Regions from separate parts of the Homo sapiens genome. Here region 2 is linked to region 1. The links are contacts of gene promoters, found by promoter capture Hi-C in blood cells and fetal thymus (Javierre and others, 2016). All regions are on one chromosome and are shown on one strand. The core of a region is centred on a gene start or on the middle of the fragment in contact, and the rest is flanking DNA. Distances in the headings are between cores, read along the strand shown.

Region 1 (3,866 bases), core at 883-3,382:
AAGTGGGATCTGAAAGTGACCTGCTTCCAAACTCAAGGGGAGAAAACGTTATCTATCCAGGAAAAGCTCCATAGCGGAATTTTAAAACATCCAACATCCCTCAGACTAACAGGTGTCACAGAATATGAAGAATAAATAAATGAATCTATTTAACACGGGTCATGCTTGTCTTTGAAAATAGTGTCTGAGGCCGGGCGCGGTGGCTCATGCCTGTTATCCCTGCACTTTGGGAGGCCGAGGTGGGTGGGTCACCTGAGGTCGAGAGTTTGAGACCAGCCTGGCCAACATGGTGAAACCTCGTCTCTACTAAAAATACAAAAAATTAGCTGGGCATGGTGGCGCGAGCCTGTAATCCCAGCTACTCATGAGACTGAGGCAGGAGAATGGCTTGAACCTGGGAGGCGGAGGTTGTGGTGAACCAAGATCGCGCCACTGCACTCCAGCCTGGGCAACAAGAGCAAAACTCCGTCTCAAAAAAAATAAAAATAAAAAAAAGAAAAGAAAATAGTGTCTGAAATTATTTTGTTAATTGTACTTAGTTTTAAAGTTTAAGAAGTGTATACTTATGAAATAAGTAGACTCCAATACTAGTTTAGGGCCTCCACATTACTACATAGATTACAAAGCTTCTCCGTTAGCCCAGCTGAGCTGCCCCCAACAAACAGTTTTCATATTTATTTAGTATTCGTGTTCTATTTTCTTCCAGATAGCTTTGTGGGGACTGACAATTTAAGTAATGCAAAATAATTTGATTATGACAACTGAGAAAAGAAACGTGTGTTGTGTTTTGAGGTTATCATTTCCTTGACCATCATAAGCAGCCTGGTATCTATTTCATCTTTGTTCGTAATCACAGCACACCTTTGAACACATACCAAAATGATGATGGAATGAGAGCAAAGTATGTGAGTCAATTGGCTACTCTGTGAAACAATTTGTTAGTTTTAGGCTATAGTTCTTTTCAATTTTCAGCCAAATTCTATAAAAATCTTAGCTGGAAGGAAATGCAAATGTCAGGTTACATTTTAGAAATTAATTTTTGGGCTGAGTGCTGTGGCTCGTGCATGTAATCCCAGCACTTTGGGAGGCCGAGGCCGGTGGATCACCTGAGGTCAGGAGTTTGAGACCAGCCTGGCCAACATGGTGAAATCCTGTCTCTACTAAAAATACAAGAATTCGCCAGGTGTGGTGGTGCGTTCCTGTAATCCCAGCTACTCGGTAGGCTAAGGCACAAGAATCACTTGAACCCAGGAAGCAGAGGCCTGGGACTCTCCAGCCTGGGTGACAGAGCAAAACTGTCTCAATTTTTGGCCCAATTACCATGTAGCATTAACTTGTTTCAGAATGTTTAATATTACTGGGAAGACAGCATCGGTAGTGGTCAAAGTGATTTGTAGTTCACAAAGCATGTAGGCATTTTTTTTTGAAGAAAGTAAACAAAATAATTTGAACTGTTGTTTCAGGTAATAAAATAGACTCATGCGGTAAGTCATTTGAGCTGTATGTACAAATGGACTATGACACAGCTAAATTAGTCACAACTGTCCACCACAGGCCAACTTCAAGATAAAGGGCTATATATCAGTTAGCAATGCTCTCTTACAACCAGCCCTGATGTGTTTGTAAGCAGGAAAATAATTTTATGGTTACAATCAACAAAGAAGTATCAGGCCAGTCCACCAAGCCCAGCCAAATCCCATATCTCGCTCCAGTTTTATAGAGATTAGCATATCACATGAGCCAAATGCTGTTCCCCAACTTAGAATGTGATATTGCTATTTTGCAGGGAAAGTGTAAGCCCTGTTCTGCAACACTGATGAAATAGAAGTATTCATAGATCTTGTTTAACGTGGTCCAATAATTGAAACATAAAATAGATATCTTGTAACAGAACATTTTTAAAAGTCAAGAAAGATAAGAATTAGGCCTTGGAAAATAAATGACTATGAAGAAAGATAAAAAGAAAAGAGACTGGGGTGTCTCTGAAGACCCTGCTTAGAGGCCCTGTCCTCCTTGCGGCAAGCGGCCATTGCCATGGAAACCGGAGCCGCAGGGCTATCTGTCCGGGATTGTGACGCCCAGATGGGAGTGGTGAGAGGAGACAGAAAGAGGGTGGTGGCCGATAGCTGGTCCTCTTTCTCCAACACCTAGCCTGAGACTTGGCGGCGCGGCTGCTATCCTGAACTAGCTTGGTAAGTGTTGTGTCCCGAACCAGCGTAGAGAGACCTCGGACCAGCCGCCTTGATGACAGCATCCGCGTCCTCCTTTTCATCATCTCAGGGTGTCCAGCAGCCCTCCATCTACAGCTTCTCCCAAATAACCAGAAGCTTGTTTCTCAGCAATGGTGTGGCCGCCAACGACAAACTCCTTCTGTCCAGCAATCGCATCACCGCCATTGTCAATGCCTCGGTGGAAGTGGTCAACGTATTCTTCGAGGGCATTCAGTACATAAAGGTGCCTGTTACCGATGCTCGTGACTCGCGTCTCTACGACTTTTTTGACCCCATTGCTGATCTTATCCACACCATCGATATGAGGCAGGGCCGTACGCTGCTGCACTGCATGGCTGGAGTGAGCCGTTCCGCCTCACTGTGCCTTGCGTACCTCATGAAATACCACTCCATGTCGCTGCTGGACGCCCATACATGGACCAAGTCGCGCCGCCCCATCATCCGGCCCAACAACGGCTTTTGGGAACAGCTCATCAATTACGAATTCAAGCTGTTTAATAACAACACCGTGCGCATGATCAACTCGCCGGTAGGTAACATCCCTGACATCTATGAGAAGGACCTACGTATGATGATATCAATGTAAGCCATCCCGGCCAGCCCCTGACATCTGCCATCGATCTTGCACCAAGACTGAACTTGAACACTGACATTTTGTTAGTAAAGAAAACCGGATGGTGCCTTGTTAAAGGGCAAGAAAAAAGGGAGGGGGTTGGAGTTTTGAACGTAGTAAGCCTTACCTTAATAGAATTAAATTCATGAAACATAAGATAGTGAAAATATTTTTTATATTGTGAGGTCAAGCTATTGGGGCCTGGCTGGAACCAGGGTGGGGCAAGTAATGCTCAGCTCACATAGACCTGCCAGCAGCACCCAATACATGTGGCAGACCTGGAATCCTGAGCCCTGCCAGAGGCTGACTAACCCAGGAGTGAATCCCCTAGAATCTCACCCGGTTCTTTCCAACCCAAAGTCAAAGCCTTAGACATCTTGGCATCCCTTGCACTTCTCCCAGTAAGTGCCAACCTAGTGGATAAGTGGCTTTCATTCAAGCTGTGCTCCAGGAGCTCTGGAGGAGTCTCAGGCTACCCTTGCCCACCTTCAATCACAGTGGCCCATCTCTGGTTTTCTAGATCGGATTTATACATTAGTTAAAAAAAAAAAAACTAGTTTTTTAAAAGACCATTCCACTCCATAAAGTTTAAAAATATTGTATTTTTTTGACTGCTGTACTTGATGGCAAGTTCTCAAGGTGTCTTTGGTGATCTCCCACCGGCCTTTGTGAAAAGGGACATAGTCCTTTTCCCAGGGCATATACTGAGAGAGAACAGGCCTGACACCAGGCCTCAGGGGTTCCTCTCATGAGCCTTGGCTTAAGAGGCTGGAGCTGCTGGCCATGACCCAGCCCTGTCACCTCTAACATCTCCTTTCATTGTGACCTTGGTCCTCTCAGAGCTTCACTTTCCTCACCTGTCAAAGCAACTGTCTCCCATAGAGTTGTTGTGAGGACTGGGTTCCTTAGCATAGTACCTGGCACATGAATGGTTTCATGCTTGGAGTAAAAGGCAATGATACTCTTTGACCCTGGTTTGAGGTCAGCACACTCATCCTCATAATGGCATTTCCCCCATCTGT
Region 2 (3,866 bases), core at 966-3,465, 210 kb after region 1:
GTCCATCCCATAAGTATAATGTTCTTGGCTCTTACTTTTGTAGCTCTATTCTGGCAGTCTCTTTTATTGGTGGTGATGATGGTGGTGGTGGTGGTGGTGGTGGTGGTTTGGAGTGTCTAGTTCATTTATACTTAATTTGATTATTGATATGGTTGGATAAAGTTAGCTGTCATTCCTGTTGTATTCTTTGTATTGTATTGTTTTTCTCTGGTTGCTTTTAAAAGGTTTTTCTCTTTATATTTGGTTTTCAAAAATTTGACTTCAATGTGCTCAGATATTTTTTTTCTTTATAATTATACTAATAGTATTTTAAGTCTGGGGTTTGATTTTTTTTTTATCAGTTTTGGAAAATTCTCAGCCATTGATTTGTCAAATATTTTTTCTGCTCCACCGTTTTTCTCTTCTTCTCGGACTCCAATTACATGTATGGTAGACTATATGCTATTGCCTCAAACATCTTAGATGCTTTCTTTTTTTTTTTTTAACTTTTAACTTTTGTGTGTTTGTATGTGTGTGTTTCTGCTTCAATCTGTATGCTTTCTAGTGACTTGTTTTCAAATGCATTGATTTCTTTTTTTTTTTAAATATACTTTCCAATCTGCTATTCAATCCATATAGTGATTTTCTTTTTTAAATTTCAGATTAACATTTTTTCAATTCTGGAATTTCCTTTTGTTTCTCTTTCTGGAGTATGATTTTTTATACATTAATTCATTAGGATTATGTTTTTCTTTTGTCCACATTCTTCAAATATCTGCTTGCTTTTTTTTTCTTTTTTTTTTTTTTTTTTTTTTTTTTTTTGACAGGATCTGGCTCTCTTGCCCAGGCTGGAGTGCAATGGCATAATTTTGGCTCACCACAACCCCTGCCTCCCAGGTTCAAGCGATTCTCGTGCCTCAGCCTTCCAAGTAGCTGAGACTACAGGCGCGTGCCATCACACTCAGCCTGAATATCTGCTTTAAAATTATCTACAGGGCTAGGCGCAGTAGCTCATGCCTGTAATCCCAGCACTTGTGAGAGACCAAGGTGGGCAGATCACCTAAGGTCAGGAGTTCAAGACCAGCCTGGCCAAAATGGCGAGACCCCCATCTCTACTAAAAATACAAAAGATTAGCCAAGTGTGATGGCGTGCCTGTAATCCTAGCTGTTCGGGAGACTGAGGCAGGAGAATCGCTTGAACTCAGGAGGCAGAGGTTGCGGTGAGCCAAGATTGTGCCACTGCACTCCAGCCTGGGCGACACAGTGAAAGTGCGTCTCAAAAAAAAAAAAAAAAAAAAACTACAAATTTCAACATCTGAGTAATTTCACAGCTGGTTTTCATTAATTTTCTTTTCTTTTGAATATAGGTGAAATTTTCCTGATCTTCATAAGTTTAATAATTTTTATCCTGCATATCATGAGTAATACATTGTGGAGATTGACTATATTTTTCTGAAGATTGATATATTTTTGCTTTATTAGCCAGTTAACTCACACTCTAAACTTTGTCACCCTTGTAATGGCAGCAACTGAAATCTCTCTCTAGTTCTTTTAGGCTGCTCATTATCTGTTCTGTTCATGCATAATTCGGCAGTCAGAGCTTTGGGCAGAGTTTATGTGTGGAATTTGGTGTTTCCACTCTCTGTCTCCTGACTGGGATTTCTCCCCTCACTTCCAACTCTTTATGGTAGCCTCAAAAGCTGTCCTATGATTCTTCAGCCTAGTAAGACTGCCATTTCTATTTGAGTTCTAGCCAGCCAAAGTACCAGTTGAAGCCTGCCTTCAGGTGAAAATCCAAGAAAAAGGGAGTTACTCATCTAGTGCCGTTTCCTTCCTTTAAGTGTGAACTTTTCCTTTGGTTTTGCCTGATTTTGGTCTCTCTCCAGTGCCATCTGGTAGTTGACTTTTATATTTTATCCAGAATGTGAAGCTGTGTGTGGAATGTCACTCCAAATATTGTCAGAGGCAAAACTTCTACTCAACACTATTAAAGATAAACTCAAGTTACTTTTTTACACATCGTTTATAATTGCTAATTAATGTACTACTATAAGCATCCATTGTATTTTGCTTCTACTTGTCTAGTGACAGACACTTAGGTTGCCCCCCAACTTCTCCATACTACAAGCAGTACTGTTCAGAACATTACCTGTGGAAAGGTTTCCTTGGCATACATATTCCAAGAGTAAGATTGCTAGATTGTAGCATATTTGTATTCCTAATTTTTTGAGTAAATCCCCTTCCACCAGGACGTGAGTGTTCTCCTTTACTCACATCTCTACAATACTTGGAATTACTCAAATTTATGTTTGCCAGTCTTAAAGGTAGAAGCTGTTGTGTCATTTAAACTTGTATGTTCTGATTTCTAGAGGAGTATAGTTACTCACATTGTTTTTCACCTTTTATGTGTTGGATTACTTATGTCCATTGCCTGTTTCTCTGCCTATGCTTTTTGAGTCAGATCTTTACTCTTCCTTATGATTTGTGTTTTTTTGGTCATGTCCAATAAATTCTCTCCCATCTCAAGGAAACATTCTTCTACATTTTCTTCTCTTAACTTTATACTTTTACCTTTCATATTCAGGTCTTTAATGCAGTTGCTGGTTTTGTTGTATATGGTATGAGGTAGAAATCTAATTTCATATTTCCAAATATGATGCTACCATTTTTTCAAGTAGATCATTGTTTTTATTACAGTGTTGGGAGGTATATTTTAACATTTGTTAAGATAATTCATGAAGGTGGTTTTCCTAAAATTTAAATCTGATTACATTACTTGAAATCATTCAGTGGTTCTCCATTGTTTTAGGATACAGTCAGTAGTCTTTAAATGGATTAGGGAGGTCTTTGTGAAGTAGTCTTTGCATTTTCTGTCCAGCCTGCTAGTACTCTAAACTTAATATGCGCTCGTTCTTCCTCTGAGAAGTATTATAATGTTATCATACACAGCACAATATGCTTAATTTGTTTTTCTTGTATATATTTTTCACTACTGTGTAGTCTTAGCAGTTCCTGTTATGTATTAGGTGTTTAACAAATATTTATCAATTGAAGGAATTGAATAACTTGGCCCTTATCCTTGGCCTAACTATCTAATTAACTTTTTTTAGACCAGATGAGTGTTTTGGGGGAACTAGTTTAGCTGATAAGTAAAAGTTGATTTAATAACTCTGGATCGCTGGACGCGGTGGCTCACGCCTGTAATCCCAACACTTTGGGAAGCCAAGGCGGGCGGATCACCTGAGGTTGGGAATTCGAGACCAGCCTGACCAACATGGAGAAACCCCATTTCTACTAAAAATACAAAAGTAGGCGGGCGTGGTGGCACATGCCTATAATCCCAGCTACTCGGGAGGCTGAGGCAGGAGAATTCACTTGAACCCGGGAGGCGGAGGTTGCAGTGAACTGAGATCGTGCCATTGCACTCCAGCCTGGGCAACAAGGGCGACACTCCGTCTCAAAAAAACAAACAAACGAAAAAACTGATCATCTCAATAGACAGTTCTTTCAAATCTTCCTTATGTTAGCGGTGTGTGTGTGTGTAGCTCCTTAATTGTTTCCATCATTAGGACAACCCTGTAGGTAGCAAGATTGGATATTAGCTCTTGTTTTATTGCATCAGTTTTTTATTGATGTTGAATCCTAGTTTAAGTGAATTGCCTGAGGTTCATACAGCCTAGTTTTGTATTTCTACCTACTTTTTTTTGAAAATATTTGTTTGCTCAGGCAGTTATATACTGGTAATGATATGAATAAAAGCCACTTCAATCCATTGTTCTGCCAAGTATGTTTTACAGGTAATATTTATGAGCCTTTCTTTTGTTAGTTTTTTCCTTTTGTTTTGGGGGAGTTGTCTTAAGGTTTGTAACCATAGCAATAAAGAGTTT

What was found. The method cuts DNA at HindIII sites, captures the fragments that hold promoters and counts their contacts. A CHiCAGO score of 5 or more calls a contact.
Region 2: a contact is called between a fragment that was not itself captured here and the fragment with the promoter of DUSP21 in region 1, in 1 of 17 cell types (neutrophils). The highest score is 5.4, in neutrophils.

What each region holds. Positions count from the first base shown.
Region 1 is chrX:44,841,889-44,845,754 of GRCh38, forward strand. DUSP21 (dual specificity phosphatase 21) reads left to right here and starts at 2,133. Exons shown (of 1, transcript NM_022076.4): 1 at 2,133-3,000. The coding sequence starts at 2,245. The coding sequence ends at 2,817. The HindIII fragment of the contact is 1,701 bases long and covers 625-2,325 here.
Region 2 is chrX:45,046,903-45,050,768 of GRCh38, forward strand. All of the region lies in intron 8 of KDM6A (lysine demethylase 6A), which reads left to right. Among named protein-coding and RNA genes, the nearest start is that of DIPK2B, 150 kb to the right of the region's middle. The HindIII fragment of the contact is 5,227 bases long and covers 1-3,866 here.